Regions from separate parts of the Homo sapiens genome. Here all the other regions are linked to region 7. The links are contacts of gene promoters, found by promoter capture Hi-C in blood cells and fetal thymus (Javierre and others, 2016). All regions are on one chromosome and are shown on one strand. Each heading gives the region's core, a stretch centred on a gene start or on the middle of the fragment in contact. The rest is flanking DNA. Distances are from core to core; before and after follow the strand shown. Region 1 has its middle 7.0 kb from the start of PRR16. Region 2 overlaps CSNK1G3 (casein kinase 1 gamma 3). Region 3 has its middle 110 kb from the start of CSNK1G3. Region 4 overlaps CSNK1G3 (casein kinase 1 gamma 3). Region 5 has its middle 370 kb from the start of PRR16. Region 6 has its middle 39 kb from the start of CEP120. Region 7 holds the start of SRFBP1 (serum response factor binding protein 1).

Region 1 (3,744 bases), core at 886-3,385, 1.5 Mb before region 7:
TTGTAGGAGAAATCTCAATGAGTAAGAATAAAGACACCTGAGTTCTGCTCTTAATTCTGTCCTACAATGCCAACTAAATCTTTTAGCTTTGGAAACCTTATCGAAAATTGAGGATAATAGCAGTTCCCTGCTCTAGTTTATTGGATTATACTGAGAATCAAGGGAGATTGTATTATGACATTGGAAAATGCTACAGAAATAGTAAAGTTCTGTACAAATACAACATAAATAAAAATAGCAGAAATAAATTGTTATATGAAAATGTACATGGACATAAAAATACTATTGACACACACACACACACACACACACACACACACACACACACACACACGATTCCCAACAAAGCCTTTCTATACAGAATAATCAAGGCTTACGGAATCAATCATTTGTGAAGGCAAAATATGATGAAAGTAATTAATATAAACTTTTATTACCATATTGACCAAAATGTATTTCATGGAAATTCTTTTAACAGGCTATTTATAAGTGTTAGGTTAAAGGAAGGAAGAGTGGAAGGATGGAGGGTGAGAGGGAGAGACAAAAAAAGGGAGATTCCATTGTCAAATAAAATAAATTTGGAGACTAAATTTAAACTGGTAAGATTTTTCAAACTTTAATATCCTGATATTTAACCTCATCATTACAAAAAGTGGGGTATAGAGAAGGCAGAGTTTCCAAAATTTTATGTCAGTTGAAACTGCTGGAACATACTTTGAAAAATGCTGTTATAGAGGGATTTGCTTAATCAAGTAATTCTGGAAAGCAGCCAAATCCTAAACAGTGAAGTTAGCAAGTTCCTTGATGCACACAGAAGATCAATCAAAGTAAACACCGAAAAGAATAACCATGGCTAACGTTTGTTCAGTAATTCACAGATAATAAAACATTCTCACATAATTATCTCTTCTGATTCTCCACCCATTTTTGATAAATAAGTATTATATCCACGTGTGCAGATAAAGAAGCAAATGCTATTGGAGTTTTAGTGTCTAAAATTACAAAGCTGTTGGCAGAACATTAGTCTCAAATGTAAAATGTCCAATCCATCGCGTTTCCGTTATAACCTGCTGCTTTACTGTTGAAAAAAGGAAGAGGTCTTATTCTTCTTATAAGGTTACTAGTCCTAGATTAAAGGCCCCACCCTCACCACTTCATACAACCTTCATTACTTCCCAGTGGCCTTATCTCCAAATATTCTCACATCGGAGGTTAGGGCTTCAACATAGGAATTTTGGTGAGGAGACACAAACATCAAATCGATAACAATATCATTTTATACAGTTGAAGACAGGCTTGAGGCATAAATCATAGCTCACCGACTTGTGGTAAGGAGGGGGTAGATAGTGGAAGCAGCATGCCAATTAAATAGATTAGTGGCATCATTGTAGATCGAAATGATTTTATCAAGGTCCACCAGTTCAGATTGGCATGCTGTCTAAGGCCTTACACTTTAGCCTTACACAGAATGCCCTTACGTACTTGCCAGGCTGCAGATCTATGTCAGTCATTCCATTCCAGTTCCTGGATGAAGAACTAAAACTGCATACTCTATGTGGTCACACACAGTATTGGTGACCACCTAACACCTAATGGAGTATGGTTTTATATCTGAAGGTCATGGGGTATAGCTTTTGACAACTTATTTGTCCTCTGTGATTTTATCCTTGATCACAGTTACTCATTTCCTTGGAGCGGGGAAAGGACCTTGAAACTTAATAAGGACAGAAATCTCCAAGTACCTTCAAAATTATCTGGGTATCTGAATGATTGTATAGGGCTTTCAATTATCTTGATGCATGCGTGTATTGAGTTCTGCTAAGTGATTAAGGTGTCCTCTGTTCTAGCTGAATCCACTTCCAAGGAAAGGGGCTGTTAAGCTGTGTAGAGTGGCAATTGGCCAAATTTTAGGAACAACTCCCTGGCCACGGCTGTGAGTGTCCTGGAATATGTAAAGTCCTAGGTTCTCTTACCACTTAATCCAGCAATTTGAAGCTGTGAGGTAGAATGAGTTTGGGACTACCCTGTTAGGCACTGGCCTCAGGGTTTCTGGACAAGTGGTAATTCCTAAAAACTTGAGTGAAATGGAGTAATCGTTTGAGCATTGCTTGCTCTTTTGGTAGGCAGTTCAACAGAGGACTGGGATGTTTGAGGTGAGATATTTATAGATGGGACCTGAGCCTGAGATTGGAAAGGATGAGGGGGTTGGTGGCTCTTGGCATGGGTAAACTGAATGCCAAATCTAGGACTTGATAGATGCTAATTTGGGGAAGCAAAAACAACTAAAAAATGTCCATCTGTGAGATAAAAGTAAAGTATATAATCCGTAGGGTCTAGCCCTACAGGGCCTGTGGGTTTTTCTCTTCATGTGCGGAGACAAGAGATCGTAGAAATAAAGACACAAGACAAAGAGATAGAAGAAAAGACAGCTGGGTCTAGGGGACCACTACCACCAAGGCGCGGAGACCAGTAGTGGCCCCGAATGGCTGACCGCACTGCTATTTATGTATACAAGGCAAAAGGGGCAGGGTAAGCAGTGTGAGTCATCTCCAACGATTGATAAGGTCACGTGAGTCACGTGTCCACCGGACAGGGGGCCTTTCCCTTTTAGGTAGCTGAGGTGGGGAGAGGACAGCTTACGTCATTATTTCTTCTACACTCTTCTCAGAAAGATCAAAGACTTTAACACTTTCACTAATTCTGCCACTGCTATCTAGAAGGCGGAGCCAGGTGTATAGAGCGGAACGTGAAAGTGAAACAGGAGTGTGACCGCTGAAGCACAGCATCACAGGGAGACATTTAGGCCTCCAGATGGCTGCAGGCAGGCTTGACTGATGTCAGGCCTTCCACAAGAGGTGGTGGAGCAGAGTCTTATCTAACTCCCCCGGGGAAAGGGAGACTCCCTTCCCCCGTCTGCTAAATAAGGGGTGCCTTCCCAGGCACTGGCGCTACCGCTGGACCAAGGTCCTCTAGGCAACTGGCACCTTCCCAGGCACTGGCGTTACCGCTAGACCAAGGAGCCCTCTAGTGGCCCTGTCTGGGCGTGACAGAGGGCTCATACTCTTGCCTTCTGGTCACTTCTCACCGTGTCCCTTCAGCTCCTATCTCTGTATGGTCTGGTTTTTCCTAGGTTATAATTGTAGAACAGAGGTTATTATAATATTGGAATAAAGAGTAATGCTACAAATTAATGATTAATAATATTCATATGTAATCATATCTATATTCTATTTCTAGTATAACTATTCTTATTCTATATATTTTCTTTATGATACTGGAACAGCTTGTGCCCTCGGTCTCTTACCTTGGCACCTGGGTGGCTTGCTGCCCACAATAATCCAATATAAATACTATATGGTGGAGATATATATATATATATATATATATATATAGTTTTTATTTTTTCAGAGGTATGTCACCTTCTGAGGGGGAAGAAATAGGCCGCAGGGTAGGCAATTTTATCCAATTTGAGTGAATCATTATACTTCTTCACTACCGGTTACTGACCCATGAAGGATGACTGCTAATTCATATGTTGTCTTTCTTTGCATTAATTTTGAAAATAGAATCACTTTCTAAAAATACATAATTTCCAACTATCAGAAAATTATCATAATATACATATTTTGAGAGAATAACTCATTTCACGGACATCTGCTGGAAAATCATAGTAATAAATATACACACCCATGACTTTTCTATAAGAATGGCACAAATGTAATAGTAGCTTTGTACTCTACAACC
Region 2 (3,358 bases), core at 274-2,773, 1.6 Mb after region 7:
CTACCGTGTGCAGTCCCAGCTAAATAATTTTTAAATTACCACATTCTCAAGATTTTTTTTTTCTGTTTTAGGCTGACACATTAAAGGAGAGGTATCAGAAAATTGGAGATACAAAACGGGCTACACCAATAGAAGTGTTATGTGAAAATTTTCCAGGTAATGAATAATGTGAGGTTGATACATTATATACAGAAAACTAGAAATGCTAATTTTTATTGCTTAAGTTTATACATATTTTTTTCTATGCTTAAAAAAAAAAGAGCTAAAAATATGATTTAAAGGTTGTCAGCATTTGATGCCGAACCCACAGGGACACTTTGTGTATTTGCTTTGCAAATGGTATTAATAGAAGAAAATCCTGTCTGTTAATAGTGTTGATCATTACCAGCTGAAGTAATATTTTCTTTAGTGATATACTTTTAATGAGTTAAAATTTTTGCTAAGAAATGCCAGTTACAAAGTTTTGGTATTCAGTGTTAGTCATTTGGGTCTCAATGTCAAGTTCAAAGGAGGTATGTGAAGTATGATTTGGTTTAGTTTTCAAATTAAACTTAAATTAAGTAAGGCCAGTAAAACCTTACTGACCTCACTAGTTTGGGGCTAATTTTATATTGGGGAGCTGTATGCATTTATGAAAATAATTTTGCTTTCAAGTAGATTTATGGCAACTCAAATTAAGCCAAAAAAAATTTACTTAAGATTTCTACATCAATTAAGGAATAAGAATAACTTGTTAGTATATTAAGATAATGACTGTGATTTATTTGTGCAGCCACATTAAGTGAAAAGAGAGCTAAATTTGAAGATAAAATACGGAATTCCTATCTCACTTTAGTATTCCGTAGTTCTCCTGTATAATGCTGGCGTTATTAATGTAATAATAATATTATCAACATAACAAAAGTAGCTCTTTCTCAAGCTTGTTTATATTATTCATTGACAGCAAACTTTAATTATATATTTTCCTTTCTTGCTATAATATCTAGAAGTAGATTTTTTAAAATGTCGGTTAATAGTACTAGCAGTTTAGTGTAGGCAGATAGGGTAGTTGTCATTAAGGAAGCCTATATAAAGGTGGGAAAAATGGGGTTGCCAAATCAAATTAGCCAGGTATTTAGCTAGAAAGTGGAATAGTGGGAGAGTCACCACCTAAAGAAGGTCACTGCACACCACTTTTGTTGCCTCATTGTGCTGGGTGTGATCTTTTTCCTGTTGGCTGGGGCTGCCTGTGAATGCTAGGTGTAACTTACCATCTCTTACTGTAGTGATTTTCTGTGCCCTGATGGTGAAATGCCCTGCTTTACTAATTGCTCACCATTTTGCCCATTGTTTTATATTTATATATTTGTTTGTCTGTTTGTTTGTTTTTGCATGTATTAGATACATGTATCTAATACATTTTGGAATTATAATAGCATGCAGAGATTTGTATATCGCCAAATAATTGTTAAATATATGACCAGAAATTAAGAGAAGACTTACACTGTCCTCTTGTGTTATGTTTTTGAGATTTGTTTTAGCTTTCCTTTGTTAGCTTAATTGGTTAGAATACTGCTCAAAGCCAAGGTTAGGAATTTGAATTCTCTATTAGTTAGTTGGTTTATGTCACTGATTCTAAAGGAAATCCAGCAAGCCAATACAGATGCTTTCATATAAATCAGTTCTCACCGGTATTTTAAATAAAATTTTAAATTTATAAACTGAATATGATGCTTTGTGATTAATCATGCATTATTAAACTGCTTATTCAACTTCTCATACTACCAAATATTAAAAATAATCTTATAAAAATGAAAATTTTAGCTTTTCCTAATGAAATGAAGCAAAAATAGTGGTTGTTAAACTAAACCTCCCATTTTTCTTGTGTCTCTATTCCCTTCCTTCTTTTCCTCTTTTTTATTTTGTTGTAATTAAACTCAGAAAAATTTAAATTGCAATGTAATTTTGTTACTTTTCAAGTGTTTTTATATAATACAATGTGCTTTTAGATACTTAATTTTATTACTGAGTATTAAAGAAAAGTATAGTCCAAATAATTTTTATATTATTTCTAGAAGAAATGGCAACATATCTTCGTTATGTAAGAAGGCTAGATTTTTTTGAAAAACCAGACTATGACTACTTAAGAAAGCTTTTTACTGACTTGTTTGATCGAAAAGGATATATGTTTGATTATGAATATGACTGGATTGGTAAACAGTTGGTGAGTATTCTATATAATAATATATTACTTACAGTATCTGTTGCCTTTTTAATAGTACAATATCTTCAATTGAAAAGAGTTGAGAACAAATAGTTGTTTTAAAGGATTCATTTTATTGTTTTTTAAGGGACATTTCTGCAGGTAGTGCCGTACTAGTGTTCTTTGAGTTTTTCAGAAGCCCTACATCTGGATTCTTTGCCTTTTAGCATGAAGAGTTACTTTTAACTTTTCATCCTGATTTAGTTCTTAATGTCAAATATACTCTTTTTTGTGTAATATTCTCATGATTAATTTAATACTTCAATCCCTTGATGAAAATTAAAATTTGTATGAGTCTCTTCAAGTCAAAATATTGGAAATAAGTAATTTTATTAGTTTTTTTATTCTTTTAATTTTCTTAAAAGTTTATTCTATGTATACATTTGCTTTGGAAATGAGAGGCATAAACATATACATTTTTATCATGTTGATATGAAAATGTAGCCTAAAAGTAATGGCAGCATTAAGTGTTCTGTAGATGTAAAAATAAGTACTTTATAAAGAATTTGAATATTTTAAAAACACTTTAAAAAGTAGGTATATTCTTTTTGCTTTACCTTCTTAGCTTTAACAACATATTTTGATAATGATGCCTTTACTTAAAGCCTTAGTTTATTTAACAGTCTTTTGTTTTTTTCCTTAATTCTTTTAAGCAGCTAAATGATTTTAAATAAGAATTTTAAAATGGAATGTATTGATACCAATTGTTATTGTATTGTAGCCTACTCCAGTGGGTGCAGTTCAGCAAGATCCTGCTCTGTCATCAAACAGAGAAGCACATCAACACAGAGATAAGATGCAACAATCCAAAAACCAGGTTTGCTGCCCTTTAGATATGAAATACCTTCCTTTCATGATTGAAACATACACTTTTTTCTTCAATAGATAAAACAGACTGAAGGATTGAAAATACATATTTTTAATAGATAATCTATTTTCTCTTAATTTCACTGTTTATTAGTTTAATAATAGCATTAAAATGTTTAATCATAAATCCTTAATTAATGGTACAAATTAGTGTAAACTTTTAGGAATATGTGATATTCTGTTAGAATGGAAGTATTTGGATACCCTATTAGAATGAATTGTAATAACACTTGGACTTTCTAACTGTAG
Region 3 (3,774 bases), core at 404-2,903, 1.7 Mb after region 7:
TATTTATCAGAAGCTTTGCTGAAATCCAGGTAAACCATTTGGTCTGTTTCCATGCCCACTCATTCTCATTATGCCATCAAAAAAGGAATTGGATTGAGTTTGACATGAGTTTTGGATTTTATTTCCTTCTTGCCTTTTTCCCCACTTAACTTTTCAGGCTAAAGATTATTCTTGATTTTAAAAAGCTGAGCCTTACATTCTCTTCCTCATCCCTCAGCCTTTCCTTTACATATGGCTCCACATACAGATTATAGAGCTCTTTTTTTGTTGGCTTTAGCATTAAAAAGAATCTCGAGCTAATATGAAACCTTAAAGATGTTACCTTTTTTTTTTACGTTTATTTCCTATACCCTTTTAAAAGCTGAGCTTGTTAGGAGACTCTTTTCTCAAACGTTTTTGCTTTTTAGGATCACTTTTCATTGCAGAAATGAAATCAGAGTCTTGAGTTCTTTTCACAAGGTATCATAGACCTTAAGATGAGATGCTCACATTCTCTCAAGGTGCCTGACCCTTCTGCTTTATCAACAAATTCCTCTTGCTGGTCATTTTTGTGGTACAGAATAGTAGCTTCAATTTTTGCTTTCTCTATTTCCTGGAAGATTAGATTTTAGGCATATAAAGAATTTACAGAATTTCTGGGTTTAAAGTTTTTTTGTTTTTGTTTTTAGTTATTACAAGTACATGATAGGTATCTATATGGGGCACATGTGATGTTTTGATACAGGCATACAATGTGTAATAATGACATCAGGGTAATTAAGTTATCCAGCACTTCAAGCATTTGTCATTTGTGTCAGGAACATTCCAATTTCATTCTTAGTTGTTTTAAAATATGTAATAAATTATTGTTGACTATAGCCACATTGTGCTACCAAATACTAGATCTTATTCATTAGATCTAACTGTATATATGTGTGTGTGTATATATATGTGTATACATACACATATGTGTATATACGTGTATACATACACATATGTGTATATACACGTGTATATATGTGTATATATACACGTGTATATACGTGTATATATACACGTGTATATATGTGTATGTGTGTATATATACACGTGTGTATATGTATATATACACATGTGTGTATATGTGTATATATACACGTGTGTGTATATGTGTGTATATATACACGTGTGTATGTGTGTATATATACACGTGTGTGTATATGTGTGTATATATACACGTGTGTATGTGTGTATATATACACGTGTGTATATGTGTGTATATATACACGTGTGTGTATATGTGTGTATATATACACATACATTAATTTGAGACAGAGTCTAGCTCTGTCTCCCAGGCTGGAGTGCAGTGGCACGATCTCAGCTAACCTCTGGTTTAACTGAGTAGCTGAGACTACAGGTGTGCACCACCATACCTGGCTAATTTTTGTATTTTTCGTAGAGATGGGGTTTCACCATATTGGCCAGGCTGGTCTCGAACTCCTGATCTTAAGTGATCCGCCTGCCTTAGCCTCCCAAAGTGCTGAGATTACAGGTGTGAGCCGCCATACCCAGCTCTATCTAACTATATTTTGTGCCCATAATACCATCCCCAGTTTATCCCACACCACCCCCCTCCCCGCTACCCTTCAAAGCCTCATAACCATCCTTCAACTCTTTATCTCCATGAGATACATTGTATTGATTTTTAGCTCCCACAAAAGAGAACATCAGAAACCCTAGCTGAAGTAAAATAAGAATTAGAAATTTCCAGACAATTGGGGGCCTCTATCACTACTCAATTTTATGTTTAGTATTTTATGCTCCTCTTGAACACCTTGTGTCAGGCAGTGACTTGTGTGCTTAAATACTGATTTTCTTTAACTGGCCTGGCCTTTTGTAATGTACTTTCATAATGGTATCTTAATTTCCCCTCTCTTTGCTCAAATATTTTCCACAGTGCATTTACCTTGGGTGTACTAAATTTCATTGCAAGTATACATCCTCTCAGTATACTCCTCTGCCCCTTCCTTCTCATAAGTGTGTATTCCAGTCAGAAACCTCATCATACCATGTCAACGATTTCTATGTCTTACTTACACTACCCTGATTTGTTTGTAAGTCTTCTTGATCATAGTCTTGTATGTGCATTAGTGTGAAGACTTCTTGGTATTGTTTTCAAACTTCCTGCTCAGTTTTCTGGAGTGAATCATTTGGTCATCTCTAACCAGATGGTAGATGGTATATATAACAATCCCTTTCATGATTTTTATCTTCTATTTTCACCTTCATCCTCATTGCAAAAAAATCATTTAAACATGTCAATTATTCTTATACCATTACATTCTAGCCATCTTAAATTAAGTCTTGGAAATGAAAATCTCATTTTAAATGTCATATAGGTAGAAAATCAATCATGTCTTCCTTGTACAGTATTTTGTCCTGAATCCTTTATTGACTTTGTCAGGTGCCCTAAATGTCCTGTATTTATTAGGCTTTTTTTTTTTGATAAATTGCAAGAATATTGGCAATTAGAGCTATTTTTACTCCACAGTAATGTGGAATGCTTAAATTACTTATGTGGTAACAGCAGCTGAAAATTATTCCTCCACAAATAAACATCTGAACAATCCCTTATCTCTCCTACAGGTTTCAATGAATACCAAAAGTGGGGAGTAAGACTTGAAAGTACTTACATTTCATATTCAAGAAAGAAAAAGGCTATTTGAATTTTAGCCAAAGCCTGAAGTTGTGAACAAGTAACCACTGTTAATTTAAGATAACTTTAATAAATATACAAAAAAAATCAATCAATGACATCATCCATTGGCCATGCTTCTGAAAATAAGCTAGTCAACAACAGCTTCATTCTAGTCTTCTGAAAGTAAGCAAGTTAATGACAGCCCCATGCTTCTAGACAACAGCTGATCAGCAAGTGCCTTGCTCCAATAACCAGGCTTTAGAAAGTCTGTTGGTCAACAGCAGCTTTTTCCAGTGAAATACCACACCCAGGAATATAATCAGCCTTTTTGACTTCTTTTAACCCTGCTGCACCTTTCTAAATAGTCAATTTATTACACTTTTTTCTGCTACGTTATTACTGTTACCCTCTCTTTCCTTCTGTTACACTAAGATTCCAGGAAAAATGTTTCAAAAATGGGTTCTTCTTTTTAAAAATGCTTGAAAAGCATTGCCCTAAATAATGTGAAATATTAAACTTAGTATGGAGTGCTTAGGAAATCAGAAAACTATACACTCTGTATTCTGTATACTATGTCCTAAAGATATAGAGAGATCTCCATCCAAATGTATTAAACAAGCTCTGGTACCTGGACTGGTAAGCTTTAATGCTCAAGACTATCCTTCTGCTGAGTCTTTATTCTGCAAGAGGACCAGTTTGGCAGAGTAGATTATGTCTCTTTTATTCACGTTAAAAATAAAAATGGAGAAGAATGGAAAAAGGCAAAGCAAGATGGCAGAAGAGGACTTTTTAGTGATCTTTCCCCTTGCAGAAACATCAATTTGAACAACTATCCATGCACAAAAATACCTTCACAGGAGCTAAGTGAGTCAGGTGAACCATCTTGGTACTTGGTAATAGCACAATTTTTTCTTTTCTTTTGAGATGGAGTTTTGCTCTGTCGCCCAGGCTGGAGTGCAGTGGGGCAATCTTGGCTCACTGCAACCTCTGTCTCCTGGATTCAAGCAATTCTCCTGCCTCAGGCTCCCAAGTAGCTGGGATTACAGGCACACACTGCCACGCCTGGCTAATTTTTTGTATTTTTTAGTAGAGACAGGGTTTCACCATGTTGCCCGGGC
Region 4 (3,438 bases), core at 484-2,983, 1.6 Mb after region 7:
ATTCATGATATAGCAAGGTGCCAGAGGACATAGACACACAAGAGGAAACTGATTGAGACATACATGCAGGAGTTAGCCTTAAAAACCAGAGGGAAGGAGACAGAAGACACAGATTTCAATAAGGAAAGGAAGTAAGTTGAAAAGCGCATATTAGATGACTTTAATCTTTAATAAAATGCTAGACCAATTACTGTATTTAGTTATGAACAGCTACATATTGTTTTGTGTTCCTCACATTAACTTTCTAATTGAAATACTTTAACAATTATGTTTATCCTTGTATAACCTATTTAATATGTATGTATATTTATGAGCATGTGTGTGTACATATACATATATAAAAAATTTTTTTTTCAAACAGGTTGTAAGTTCTACAAATGGAGAGTTAAACACAGATGACCCCACCGCAGGACGTTCAAATGCACCCATCACAGCCCCTACTGAAGTAGAAGTGATGGATGAAACCAAGTATGTGTTTGTTTTACTTGTTTTAGTAACTTTTTGTTCTTAAATTATGCATGCTTGAGATTTATAGTTACATACAATTATTTCAGGAAATTTTTTTCAGGGAATAGGTGCATGCAAAACAAGTGGTATGCTTAATTATTTTAATCACTAGAATGAGTTTAAAATAGTGCTATTCCAGTAAACATTTTAATAATACAAAATATTTAAGAACTGTGTTCAAATTCTTATTTGGAATTAACAACATATTTTTAGCTTTTGAGTTTTAGGAGTGTTGATGCATGAAAGTTATTGATGTACTATCAATCTTTTTTCTGTAAGCATAAGAAATTAATTTTATAAAATGCATGTTTTAATATTTTGAATTAGTTTTTTCAAAACATAAATTATAACAACATTGCTTGGAAAAAATTAAGCATGAAAAACAATGTGATAATTTCAATGTGAGCTGTTTCTGATTCTCTCTCTCTCTTTTTTTTCCTTGTATTTTTTTTTTTGTGTGTGCGTATAGCTGCCAGAAAGTGTTGAACATGTGGTGAGTCTCAAGTGTAGGCAGGCAGAAATAGCTCCATTGACTGTAATTTCAAAGATTTAGCATCATTTTGTGTCTTTTGAAAACAAAACTCTCAACACAGTGATTATAATTGGTAAAAGTTATTCAAAAGTATTTGATATCATTAAGATAGCTCTGAAAAGCAAGAAATAATTGTTTGAGGAGCTCTTTTGCCTGCTGCAACTTTTTTACTTTAAGTGACATAGATTTGGGGCCACTTTTTAATTGCATAGATGATACACCAACCCTGCTTGTGCTTGTGCATTTGTTTTATAATAGTTTTTATTTGCTATTTAAATAGAAAGATAGATTTTTGCATTAAGCTTTCTTTTTTCTCTTTGCAATTGTTAAATACATGTAGCAGATCTCATCCCCCACAGTAGTATCACTAAAACAGTATTTCATTTACTAACCAATTATCATTGCCCTTGAGTACAATATTGATAAATTTCATGATAACCTTGTAGTGAGAAAGCCATTTTAAAAATCCTCATCTAAATGGTTGCTAATAATTGCAGATATTATGGAAAGTAACATTAATAGAAATAATTTTAGATTTAAATTATTTTCTGACATTTGCCTTTAATTGTAATACTGTGCTTAAAATGCTTCTCTCAGTTTCAGGACAAATTTTGAGTCAGACTGGGAGTGAATAAAGGAAGTTGCTTAGTTTAGTAAATTTTGAAATATTTTACTCATATCTAAAGGCACCTTATATAATTTTCAAAATTATGCTCATTTGTTGGCTGCAAAATTAGGAAACTTTTGTGGATTTTTTTTTGTTAAAGAGCAGTGATTAAGAATCCATTTTAATCACTTTTGACTATAGAATTTATTGACATAAGATTAAGACTAGTGTATGTCAGGATATAATTAGCTATATACTTGTATATTTTTATGAACTACAGAAATAAATCCGTGAAAGTATAGTCTTACTTGTGTGTTTTTAAATCAAATATAAAAACAACAGCTTATGTTTGGGAATTTTAGGTACAATCCTAAGACAGGAAAGTAGGGTGGTGGTGTGGCAGATTCGACTGCACATGTCCTTTGCAGTTAGACATAGGTTATAGAATCCTGTTTCTGCCACTTATTTGTTACCTTCAAGAAAGCTTGTTTCTTTTTCTGTAAAATGAAGCTAATAATACCTACTTCATAGGTTGAGAAAATTAAATGTGATAAAGCCCTGGTATTTTGTCTGGCACACGGCAGGTACTCAATAGCTATTATCACCCCTATTTATTTCTTCTCTTCCAACTGCTGGTGACGTTTCTCATCTCTGTTCTTGGGCTTGTGCCTCTTTTATCTGTGTCCTATATTTTTACTTCCATACACACACTCTTCACTGAAACTGGCTGTTCTGTGTTTACATCCTCCTGGAGACTTGCTTTTAATAAAATCTATTACATTTATCCATTTATTCATTCAGCAGTTACACTGCTGAGGTTTCTGACATACCTGATGCTGTCCTTGTTCTTAAGTAGATTACAAGCCAGCAGGAAGATTGCAGTTGTACTAGTATATGTCAGTATGTGATTAATACGATAAAAAAGGTATTTTAAAAAATGGTTAGAGCTTGTAAAGATAAAGATTACTTCCTGACCTGGATGATCAGAGAATACTTGATGGAGGTGGCTCTGAAGAATGGCACAGTTATTTAGTTGGGATGAGTGTGGGTGTGTGTTTGGGTCCCTATCTGTAGACACTGGAGGATGTGAAAGAAGAAAGTGGTGGGAAGGCTATTGCTATAGGAAGGGTTCTCCATTGCCTGCCACATCATGTCCAGATTTCTTGGCATGGCACCAAGGCTTCTCATACCTGTCATAGTCTGGCCCATCTATTTTTGCAGCTCCGTTTTCCATTCTGAACTTTATATAGCATTGGTTCCTTAAATCTGCATTTGCTATGTTATCCTCTGTATGTACTTCCCACTTCTTGAAACTTACTGAATTTCTTGAAAACAGGTATTTTTTCATCCTCAGATTCCTAGTGGCTATATGTCCTAATAAATCATTACTAAATAATTAACAATGTGGTATACCCATACAATGGACTGCCATTTGACAATATAAAGAAATGAAATTGAAAACATTGTGCTAAATGAAAGGAGCCAAACACAAAAGGCCACATGTTATGTGATTCCATTTAAATGAAATGTCCAGAATAGGCAAATACATAGACATCAAAAGATTAGTGATTGCCCAGGGCAGGGAAGAGGAGGATGGGATTTCTTTATGGAGTGATGGAAATGTTCTAAAATTAGATAGTGGTGATAGCTGCTCAATTCTGAATACTAAAAGACACTGAATTATATATTTTGAAAGGATAAAGTTTATAACGTGAAAAATATCTTAATAAAATGGTTGTTTTAAAAAAAGTATAGCAACTCATAATATCAGTGAAGCCTTACTTCAGGTGGG
Region 5 (3,669 bases), core at 952-3,451, 1.9 Mb before region 7:
AGTCCAGTAGTAAGAGTTCTTTATCTTTTCCTGTGATCTTGGAAGATTACATGGCTGATGGCTTTAATTGTGCTTCTACCTTACTTTGTAGTTGGTGCAAAGAAATGGTTTGTGAATTCTGATGGGAAATGAGTTAGGCCAGTAAGTAACTTTGTTTGAAGATGCACAACATAAACAACTTCAGTAATGCTTAGTTGCTTAGATACAGTACGCCAGAAGAATCAATATATTTGTGTACATAATTAGTTTGGCTTGGTAAGTATTCAGTTTTTCTGATGAATTTTCGTTTGGCTGTTTTCATAATATGAGCTAGCAGATTGAGTATTTTGTCAACCTAGGAAAAAATAGACAAAAGATGTCTCTTTAACCTTCAGTAAATGTTTGATATTTAACCTCTGTGCTCTGTATTTAGTAATAGGTTATTACTTTGTGCCTCAAACAGTTTTAATTTGTATATTATGTACATGTTTGTATATTTTTTACTGGAGTTGGGAAACGCTAACTCGATTAAAGCTTTGGTTTCTCAATTTGTTGATAACAATGTATAAAACCCTCTATTGTGCATTCATACTGCTTTAAAAAAGACAAATATTTCAACCTAACATATAGCTAGACGTGGCTCATTAAAGCACATCTTACTCTACATTTTCTTTTTGAATTTTTTGGCAGAAAAATTTACCAATGCAGAAACTTGGGACATAGTATTATTTTAATTCCTAGAAAGAAAACATTAAATAAATATATTAAAGTCATATAAATATATCTTGATTATATATAAAATCATATAGTAAAAGAAATGATTATATTTTGTTAGTCAATCTTTGTGAGATAATTCAAATTTAAATTAATATTCTAAAATTTTTCAGAGCTTATTTTCCTATTCTTAGAAAATAAAAACACCCCTAAGTAGTAATATTGTTTATGACAGTGTTTTTGCCTTTGTTAGTCATTTTCTGCTTTTAATTGTCATATTGCTCAATTGGTATTAATTTCTTTTTAAGGAAGAATTGAAAACTCAAGCAGAAAAAAATAACTAAAGAACAAAAGGCCAAATGCTGAACGTTGAATTAAGTTGGTGGAAGTGAAAAAATTTTAATATGTAAAAGATGGCATTAAAACTGCTTTTGCACACTGCCTTTGCCAGAGAGAGAAGCCAAAGGGGTTTGTTAGGAGTATAAGAAGGAGGTTTAAAAGTATTCAATAGAAATTAAATGAGAGGCACATTAGACAATTTTAAGTAATCTCATGTGGATATGAGCAAATTAAAGCAATTAAACAATCTGGTGGTGCATAGTGAAAGCCAAGTAGGATCTCCATTTCTTTCTAATGTTTAAAAATAACTTCACATTGAATGGTGGTTTATGTCCTCCAAGTTTACATTTACACAAATATTAGAGAGTTTCTCACCATCAATGCTCTGGTTGATGCCCTTCCTCCGTATGTTCTCCAGCACTGCCCCTTATAACTTATCCCCTTCATCCATTCCGCACACCACTTCCAGGTTAATTTTGCCTTTCTGAACATCTGGCAGATTTTATTGGCTGTCTATCTGGTAGCCGTTACCTCTTTTTCTTTGCTAATACCACAATTGAGTTAGAACTGCAAAACGCCCAATGCAGAGTCTTAAATCATGATTGGTCTCCTGTGACAATGGCAACCTAGTCTCTCTTGTGACATATGACCTAGTTTTGGCCATAGAGATGTAGTCAAATTTGTGCTGAGTACTTTTGGAATACATTTTTCTCACTGAGAAAGCTGCATGAGGAGGAATTTATTGTGTGGATGTATGAGAATATGAAGCCATAGGAAAAATGTCAACATACTGAGGGTGGTTGAGTAGAAAAATGCTAAAAGCTTAACACTTGGAAATGCTTAGTTCTGGACTTCTTAAGAAAATAATAAATACTTTATGGCATAAGCCACTATTAATTGGCTTTTTTGTGATTGGTTGCAAATACATTCTATATATACATTCTGTCTCCCTGTTTAGCATTTATTTTCCCTTCTTCTCATAACAGTAACTTGATATTCCTTTGAAACCATTCCTCCACTGTCTTCAGCTCACATACAGATGACATATACTTAAGCCAGTCTACACACTCCACGCTCCCCAGCCCTTCATCCAGCCGTAATGATTGCTTCACAGATAAACATATAACTTAGCTGAGACAAATAAGAATCAGGTCCAGAATGCTAGTTAGAACTTTTGGGGAAGAGATTTTTGTTTTGTTTTCTTTTGGAATTTAATCAAAGAAGACATAAGCTGGGAGCTATCACAAGTGAACATTCTATCCACAAGGGAAGCCTAAAAAGAGGAAGGTAGAACTGTGGTAGATACGAGATTCTTATAACAATCTTTGAGACTGCAGCCTGTGGTACTGTGGAATCTTTTGTAGTTTAGTCGATACCTTTTTAAAAAAGTTAAACTTAAGTCATACTGAATTAAAAGGAATCTATCTTCCCTCTGGCACTTAATTCGTTTGTCACTTTTCACATATTGAATTAAAGGATAGCTATCTGGGAATATCTCATTTATTTTGCTAATGTGTAAGCTTCCTAGGTATAAACCTGATATTTCACTCAGCACAATTTTCTGCTTTTATTTAGTAGACACACCATAAATATCTGTGGAATTGATATAAAACTCAAAAATTCTGTATATATTGGGATGACAGCCAATGTGAGATTTTCTAAGAATTTTCTTAGAATCGTAGTGTCATATTCTGAAAGTGCAATTCTCCCTTGTCAAATATCTGTGCTTCATAACTGCTCAGGGAATTTCATGTACAACTTTCTCCCTTCTTACCTATAATTTATCCTAAATTGTATTTTTTTAATTGAAAAACCTAACAATTTATTCTATGTTATGACTGGTCTGCAACTTTAAACTGCTCAAATTCTCAGTTTTTCATTTTTGTCATTGTGTATTCTCACTCTCTCTTCTCTCTTTCTCCTTCTCTTTTCTCTCTTTCCCTCTATAGCCACTGCTCCTTCTCTTTTCTCTCTTTCCCTCTATAGCCACTGCTCCTTCTCTTTTCTCTCTTTCCCTCTATAGCCACTGCTTTGCTTAGGAATCTCGTAAGTCTTATAACCCAAACCCCTACCCTTCCCAGCATCTACTAATAACTGTTTTAGCCCCTACTTCTGTGAGATCAACTATTTTAACTTTCACAAATAAGTGAGAACATATAGTATTTATGTTTCAATGCCTGGTTTATTTCACTTAACATAGTGTTCTCCAAGCTCATCCATGTTGCTGAGAATGACAAGTTTTTTTTTAATCACTAAATTGTATTCTATTGTTAATATATGTCACCTTTTCTTTATTCATCTGTTGATGTATACTTAGGCTGATTCCACATCTTAACTATTGTGAATAGTGCTTCAATAAACATAGAAGTGCAGATATTTCTTTGACATATTGATTTTCTTTGTTTTGGATTTATTCCCAGTATTGGGATTGCTGGATCATATAGTAGTTAAATTTTTAGTTTTTTTTTTAAAGGAACTTTCGTACTGTTTTCCATAATAGCTGCGCTAATGTACATTTCCACCAACAGTCTTCAAGAATTCCCCTTTCCATTCTCAACAGTATTTGTTATTTTTTGTCTTTTTGTTAGCCATTCTAACTAGCATGAGATGATACCTCATTGTAGTTTTGATTTGCAT
Region 6 (3,417 bases), core at 849-3,348, 1.5 Mb after region 7:
AGCTTTCCTTGACCTTTGAAGTCATGCCTTGACGATAGCACCTCCTACTTTCCCTGGCATTCCCCTTATCACACCACATCATAACTGCCAGTTTAATAGCCTAGTCAGTGTTTAAAAATTAGCATGCTGCACTTCTCACTGTGAACTCTGGCATAATTGTTAAGATACAGGTAATAACATTGACTGGAAACATTAAATGGATATGAGAAGAGTGTAAAGTTATCTGTATATGGGTAAACTTCAAGTAATGGTTATGTCAGAGCCAAAGGAAAGCTTCCCTTCACCCTCTGAAGGTTTGCTGAAAATCACTGACAAGAGGCAGATTACTAAGAGGAAAGGTGTACAAATTTATTTGATCATAGTTTTACTTGACATGAGAGCCTTCAGAATGAAAACCCAAAGATAGAGGGGAAATTGTCCATTTTCATGCTTGGGTTCAACAAAGTACGGAAGCTGTGTAAAAATATGATTGGACAAAAGGGTAAGATCTAATGTTAATAGGCTAAGGGGGGAAGCCCAGCATGGCCTGTCTGTCTAGATTCTTTTTGGCCTCTCTGATCATGTATTCCTTCCTTCTGAGTGAGGGGTGAGACCCTCTCAGGAATGGGACTCTTATGACCTATATTCAAACAAAGTAGGTCAGATAATTTCCCTATGACTAGTCTATTTTTTTTTTTTTTTTTTTTTTGAGACAGAGTCTCACTCTGCCATCTGTCACCCAGGCTGGAGTGCAGTGGTGAGGTCTCGGCTCACTGCAACCTCCACCTCCTGGGTTCAAGCGATTTTCTTGCCTCAGCCTCCTGAGTAGCTGGGATTACAGATATGCACCACTATGCCCAGCTAATTTTTGTATTTTTAGTAGAGACAGGGTTTTGCCATATTGGCCAGGCTGGTCTCGAACTCCTGATATGGCCAGTTTTTACGAGCAGGGTGAGAAAGTTATAATATTTTTAGATTTTATAGCTGGCTCTGAGGGAAGGGATTCTGGTTTCTATGACTCACCTCAGGGAAGAGGGATCCTAATTTCTTTGGCTAGCCTTGGGGGAAAACGAGAGTGAGAGATAGGAGGGCAGATCAGAGAAAAACTTTGCTTCTGAGGCCTTCCTTTTGGGGTACTATTTTCTGAGTCCAGTGGTTATTATATGTTGCTGCTGGCAAATTGTCCAGTTAAGAAGTTCCAAAAGAGACTATATGGCAATATATTACCTACCTTTTTGTTTGGAATTATAATATTTTTAGAAACATGTAGGAAGTCAAAATTAACTCCCTTATATCTATGTGTGCCTTTTATTATAAAGTCATCTGGTACCATGACTTTAAAAGGCACACATACTCACATGCACACAATTAAAATGAAATGGAAGACGTGAAAAACTCATAACTTAGCAATATGCTTATCAACCCCCTGGTTATTTGTTGAATTGTTCACTAGAAAGCCTTTCCTGGGTCCTCTGGTAATAGAAATAATTCTAATTATAGCACACTTCATTTTTACTGTGTAGCCCACTACAGAGCACTCTCCTCTACCTTTTTCTTCTCTTTCCTTTCTTTCTCTTTTCCCTTCTGTCATGGATTATTAATGATGGTTGGCTGTGATTTATTAGCTGTCTTGCACAGTGTTTCTTAAGTGTATCATTGACATTAGCTAATTGCCAATGCTGCAACCCTGCCATAATCCCTGTCACACTGTTTTCCGTTTAAACACTTGCTGTTTTGCCCAAACTTCCTTCACACTGATCTTCTAAAGACCAAATAAAATGCTATCTACTATTCTCTATTTATAGTAGTGCATTGATTCCGTGTGTTTAATGTCTGAAGTTTGACTTCAGGCAAGCTGAAATATATTATAAATTTTTGTGCATGTGTCATTACATACTACCTTTAAAGTTTAAAAAATCAACTAGCTCACATAATATACCAATTACCAGGCTGAAGTGATAATTCACTCTCACTTGAAAAATGAGAAGTCAACCTGATTTATAGTTTGTACCATACATTTATAGTGTATGTAACACAAAAGCATGTCTGCCCAGGCATTCTATCTTGTGACACTTCCAAATATCTACAGTAAATAATGTTCATAATGAAGAGCTTACAAGGTCTCGAATACGAGATTATGGTCCAGGTAGTTTTAGCATTGAATGCATTTAATTGTTAAGCCCTTTAGAAATGTAATGTGTGTATTGTATAGGTGTTCTAGGTGAGTATCTATTTTTAACTGTTAATTGTCATTAGTCACTTTTAACACAATGTCCTGTATGCACAAAATTGTTATATGCTCTAGGCATCTGCCTATTTCTCACTGAGATGGATTTTTTTTTTAGTATGTGAATAAGTAAGTCATTTCAGAATCCAGAAAAAACATATAATACACAGTTATAAAAGTTATTTCTCTCTAATTATCACCAGGCAGAGTCTGATATTGAATCACTAACTACCCTTTAGATCCGTAATTTAATGGCAACAAATGTGAGCATCACTTGCAGTAGCTTTAAACAGAATTCCTAACCTACTTATATACTCTGGTGGTCAATCTCAGTCTCTGCTTTCTTCCTGTGGAGGAATTGAAATTCAAACTGTTCATCATCCTGTATAAGTATAGCATGAAACTTGGCCTTGAATATTTGAGTTTCTTAATCTGTGCTTATTTTGTAAACCCCCCATAAAGCTATTTATTATTATTATTAACACATCTATCACCACTCATGCTGTACATTAGATCTCCAAAAGTTGTTCATCTTATAGCTGGAGGTTTATACCCTTTGACCAACAATCTCCTCATTTTCCCCACTCCCCAGCCCCTGGCAACTACTGTTCTACTTTCTGCTTGTATATGAATTCAATTTTTTTCTTTCTGGGACACAGTCTCGCTCTGTTGCCCAGGCTGGAGTGCAATGGCCCCATCTCAGCTCACCGCAACCTTTGCCACCCAGGTTGTAAGTGATTCTCCTGCCTCAGCCTCCCGAGTAGCTGGGATTACAGGCACCCGCCACCATGCCCAGCTAATTTTTGTGTTGTTGTTGTTTTTTTTTTTAGTAGAGATGGTTTACCATGTTGGCCAGGCTGGTCTCAAACTCCTAACCTCAGGCGATCCACCCACCTCGGCCTCCCAAAGTGCTGGGAATATAGGCGTGAGCCACCGCGCCCAGCTGAGTTCAACTTTTAAGTGAGATCTTATAGAATTTGTCTTTCTGTGTCCGGCTTATTTCACTTAGCATAATGCTCTGCAGGTTTATCTATGTTGTTGCAAATGCCAGGATTTCCTTCTTTTATGGCTGAATAACATTCTAATGTATATATGTCCCACAATTTCTTTATTCATTTATCTGTTGATGGACACTTAGGTTGTTTCCATCTCTTGGCTGCTGTGAATAATGCTTCAATGAACACAGGGGTGTAGATACTTCTTCAAGATAC
Region 7 (3,234 bases), core at 77-2,576:
TCCTGCCTCAGCCTCCCGAGTAGCTGGGATTACAAGCATGCGTCACCACGGTCGGCTAATTTTGTATTTTTAGTAGAGACGGGGTTTCTCCACGTTGGTCAGGCTGGTCTCGAACTCCCGACCTCAGGTGATCCGCCCGCCTAGGCTTCCTAAAGTACTGGGATTACAGGCATGAGCCACCACCCTCCGCCGGAAGAAACGTTTTTCCTGCATTTTGAATAAAGGGGCCTGGATTTTCATTTTGCACTGTACCCCAGGTATTATGTAGCTGGACTTGAAGTCCTGTAGCAGTGGACAGTCCCAGGCAAGTGACTCTGGGCGAGGCACTTGGTGCCTCTGAAGTCACTTTCCACATCTGTAAAATAATAGTTCAGAGCAGAGTAGGGTGGCTCACTCCTGTAGTCCTAGTTATTTGGAAGGCTGAGGTGAGAGGATGGCTTGAGCCCAAGAGTTTGAGGCTGCAGTGAGCTATGACTGTGCCACTGCACACCAGCCTGGATGACAAAGAGAGACTGGGTCTCTAACAAAATAATATTAATAAAAGGAAAATAATTTCTATCTTGTTGGATTTCTGTGGAGATTTGGAGCTAATTTATGTAAAGCTCTTGGACCACCATTTGACACATTTTAATGGTCAATACTAGAAGGTGTTGACAATTATATATTACCTAATTCAAACACACTCCCTTACGTCTCCTATGCTTGCCGGCTAATAAACAGCCATTCCCACAGGCAGTACCAAATGTGTATCCTGGTTTTGCTTCAAATGTTTATTCCCTAAATTTAAACCCTTCTATAGTGTGCAGGAAAAAAATGTCCGCACCTCAGCTATAATGTCAGGTTGTAACAAAAAACTGCGAGGATTTAAAAAGGTGTGCTTGTTAGAAAAGCAGAAATCTTCACAAATACTAGATTTAAAAAAATGGAAGCAAAAAATCGTTCATTCAAGTGATCATTTCAGAAGAGCTCTTTCACCGCCGTTCAGCGCCCCCCTAGCCATTAGAGAGAAAAACCAAGGCCGGTACAATGCGAGCGCAGTGTACCAAGGGAACACACACACACACACACACACACACACACACACACACACACACACACAAACCGAATCTTGAAAAACTAGACGTTGCCCAGCTACCAGCCCCCGTCTGGTTTCCATAGGAACGCGCAATTCCGTTGCGTAGCCCTCTGCGCCGGTAGTTGTTCTGTCTCAGTTCCGGTTTTCCCTTCCAAGCGTCAATGTTTCTTGTTCCCAGGCGGCAGCTAGAGCAGAAGGCGGATGAGTTTTGGACAGAAGAGGCTTCCGTTGAGGGGCGTGGCGACGCAGCCGCGGTCTGAGAGACCGGTTCACGTGCAGGCAGCGGCGGATCATATTCCTTCATCTACCATGGCTCAGCCGGGAACTCTGAACCTCAATAACGAGGTGAGCGCCGAGGAACCTATGGGGCTGACTTTAAGGGTCCTCAAAACCAGCTCTTTTGAGACGCGTGGTCGGAGGCGGGCATAGAGGGTGCGGTTGGAGGAACTTTCGTGGTGGGCCCAGGCGGGTTTCCCGCAACTTGGAGTTTGGCAACCGGTAATTTCCCTTTTCGGTCTCCAGGTGACTAAAGTGAGAGACATGTGTCAGGCCCCACGAATTTATGTCTGTGGGACTTTGGGAAGAACCTTTAGCCTGTACGTTCAATATTCTCGTCTGTAAAGCGGAACTCAAGATAGTTCGTCCCAGGGTTGTGAGATTAACTGAGATACGTAAAGTATTTGCAAGTGCCTGACCCTTAATAAACTTTCAGTACACATTACCTGCTCTTTATTGCCTGTCGAAAATGAAAGAGAGAAAGTAAGAGCTGTAGCTTCTAAGAAATTGGTGGTCTTGAATGAGACTGTATGCTCAGTACTTCGTTTCCTCTTCCAGTTAGTGTCCTATTTCTTTGCTTCCGTTTACAGCAGAACTTCAATAAAGAGCTGTTTATACTTGCTATCCTCAATTCTTTTTTCTGCTTTTTCAGTCCATTCTCATCAGACATTTGTTCTCACCACCGTCACTTCCATAGTGTGCGGTGTCGACAAAATACCATTTCTACCACTTATCCCCCTCTGGTTTCTGCTTCTATTCAACAAAATAATGTCATCCAAAGTCTTAAAGTAAGCTGGAAACATAAGGATCGAGTAAGGACCTCACAGTTAGATACAGAAAGGAAATTCTTTATCCCGTTTATGAGCAAGTCACTGTTTAGATTACACACAGTAGTGTAAGGGATATTTCATATTTTCTAGTAACCTATACTCAAGTAAGAGAGCTAAGCAACACTCACCTGTGTTACAGAACAATGTGTGAAGAATGCCTCCAAAACCTAGTAATGCAGAAAAGTTTCCAAAGGCGGCAAAATGAAATGGGTGATACTTGTCCTTGGTCTTTAGGGATCTTGCACAGGAATTGCAGTCAGTGATTCAGGAAAGGGGAAGAAGTCATTCCAGGCAGAGGGACTGGTATAAGCAGGAAAGGGCTAGTAGCAGAAGAACCCGTGGGTAATACAGGGATAAGTAACTCTTCACTGATGGGAACTTGTGAGATGAAGAAGGAAATAAAACTGAAATATATTCTCTGCTGCCAGATTAACGAGTCAGGATTTCAGTTGACAGTGGAGTACAGGATATGCTGAAGAGGGAAGCTGAAAGTAGTTACTATTTACTCATAAACATACATTAAGCTTGTGCTTTGTGCCAGAAAGCGTTTGGTGGGCTATTTTGCATTAGGTTACCTGTGATGTATGAAAGATCAGAGTAATGTCCCTGGGATTTCAACCCCAGGGAGCTTCATATCAAATTTTGTAATGACTTTGATGATGGAAATGACAGGGGATGAGTCATTAAAGACTCTTTTCACACTTAGCTAACTTTTGTTCTTCTTCAAAACAGTTAAAATTTGACCTTTAGGAAACCTTCATTAACTCCTCTCGGTCTGGGTTAGGTGTCTGTTCTTTGTGCACCCAGATTGCTTTCTCCTCTGGAAACACTTATGTAACTGTTTCTGTCTTCCTGTGTTTATGTGTCTATCATGTGTAGCACATATGTTTACTAGGTGATTACATGAATTTGTGAAAGCAGGAACTACACACATCCACCACTGAAGTCTAGTGTGTTCTAATGTGAAGGAGATAAAAAGGACAGAAAAAAGTGGAGATGATGGAGGATATTATAATTTAAAATTAGTGGGAAAAAAAACCCACAAAAGGAAAG

What was found. The method cuts DNA at HindIII sites, captures the fragments that hold promoters and counts their contacts. A CHiCAGO score of 5 or more calls a contact.
Region 1: a fragment that was not itself captured here is called in contact with the fragment with the promoter of SRFBP1 in region 7 in 2 of 17 cell types (total B cells and naive B cells); the score reaches 6.2 in total B cells.
Region 2: a contact is called between a fragment that was not itself captured here and the fragment with the promoter of SRFBP1 in region 7, in 4 of 17 cell types (naive CD8 T cells, non-activated CD4 T cells, total CD8 T cells and 1 more). The highest score is 9.7, in naive CD8 T cells.
Region 3: a contact is called between a fragment that was not itself captured here and the fragment with the promoter of SRFBP1 in region 7, in 1 of 17 cell types (total CD4 T cells). The highest score is 5.1, in total CD4 T cells.
Region 4: a fragment that was not itself captured here is called in contact with the fragment with the promoter of SRFBP1 in region 7 in 3 of 17 cell types (non-activated CD4 T cells, total CD4 T cells and naive CD8 T cells); the score reaches 9.7 in non-activated CD4 T cells.
Region 5: a contact is called between a fragment that was not itself captured here and the fragment with the promoter of SRFBP1 in region 7, in 1 of 17 cell types (naive B cells). The highest score is 6.3, in naive B cells.
Region 6: a fragment that was not itself captured here is called in contact with the fragment with the promoter of SRFBP1 in region 7 in 1 of 17 cell types (total CD4 T cells); the score reaches 6.2 in total CD4 T cells.

The regions. Positions count from the first base shown.
Region 1 is chr5:120,455,436-120,459,179 of GRCh38, forward strand. No RefSeq gene overlaps it. Among named protein-coding and RNA genes, the nearest start is that of PRR16, 7.0 kb to the right of the region's middle. RefSeq lists an enhancer at 2,425-2,994. The HindIII fragment of the contact is 5,893 bases long and covers 1-3,744 here.
Region 2 is chr5:123,588,356-123,591,713 of GRCh38, forward strand. It overlaps CSNK1G3 (casein kinase 1 gamma 3), which reads left to right. Exons shown (of 14, transcript NM_001364140.2): 8 at 72-156; 9 at 2,055-2,203; 10 at 2,964-3,059. Among named protein-coding and RNA genes, the nearest start is that of CSNK1G3, 78 kb to the left of the region's middle. The HindIII fragment of the contact is 1,212 bases long and covers 918-2,129 here.
Region 3 is chr5:123,621,544-123,625,317 of GRCh38, forward strand. No RefSeq gene overlaps it. Among named protein-coding and RNA genes, the nearest start is that of CSNK1G3, 110 kb to the left of the region's middle. The HindIII fragment of the contact is 3,284 bases long and covers 12-3,295 here.
Region 4 is chr5:123,604,363-123,607,800 of GRCh38, forward strand. It overlaps CSNK1G3 (casein kinase 1 gamma 3), which reads left to right. Exons shown (of 14, transcript NM_001364140.2): 12 at 362-468; 13 at 977-1,000. Among named protein-coding and RNA genes, the nearest start is that of CSNK1G3, 94 kb to the left of the region's middle. The HindIII fragment of the contact is 789 bases long and covers 1,340-2,128 here.
Region 5 is chr5:120,097,012-120,100,680 of GRCh38, forward strand. No RefSeq gene overlaps it. Among named protein-coding and RNA genes, the nearest start is that of PRR16, 370 kb to the right of the region's middle. The HindIII fragment of the contact is 698 bases long and covers 1,853-2,550 here.
Region 6 is chr5:123,460,425-123,463,841 of GRCh38, forward strand. No RefSeq gene overlaps it. Among named protein-coding and RNA genes, the nearest start is that of CEP120, 39 kb to the left of the region's middle. The HindIII fragment of the contact is 3,654 bases long and covers 272-3,417 here.
Region 7 is chr5:121,960,649-121,963,882 of GRCh38, forward strand. SRFBP1 (serum response factor binding protein 1) reads left to right here and starts at 1,327. Exons shown (of 8, transcript NM_152546.3): 1 at 1,327-1,420. The coding sequence starts at 1,385. RefSeq lists enhancers at 980-1,518, 1,263-1,312. The HindIII fragment of the contact is 3,156 bases long and covers 1-2,703 here.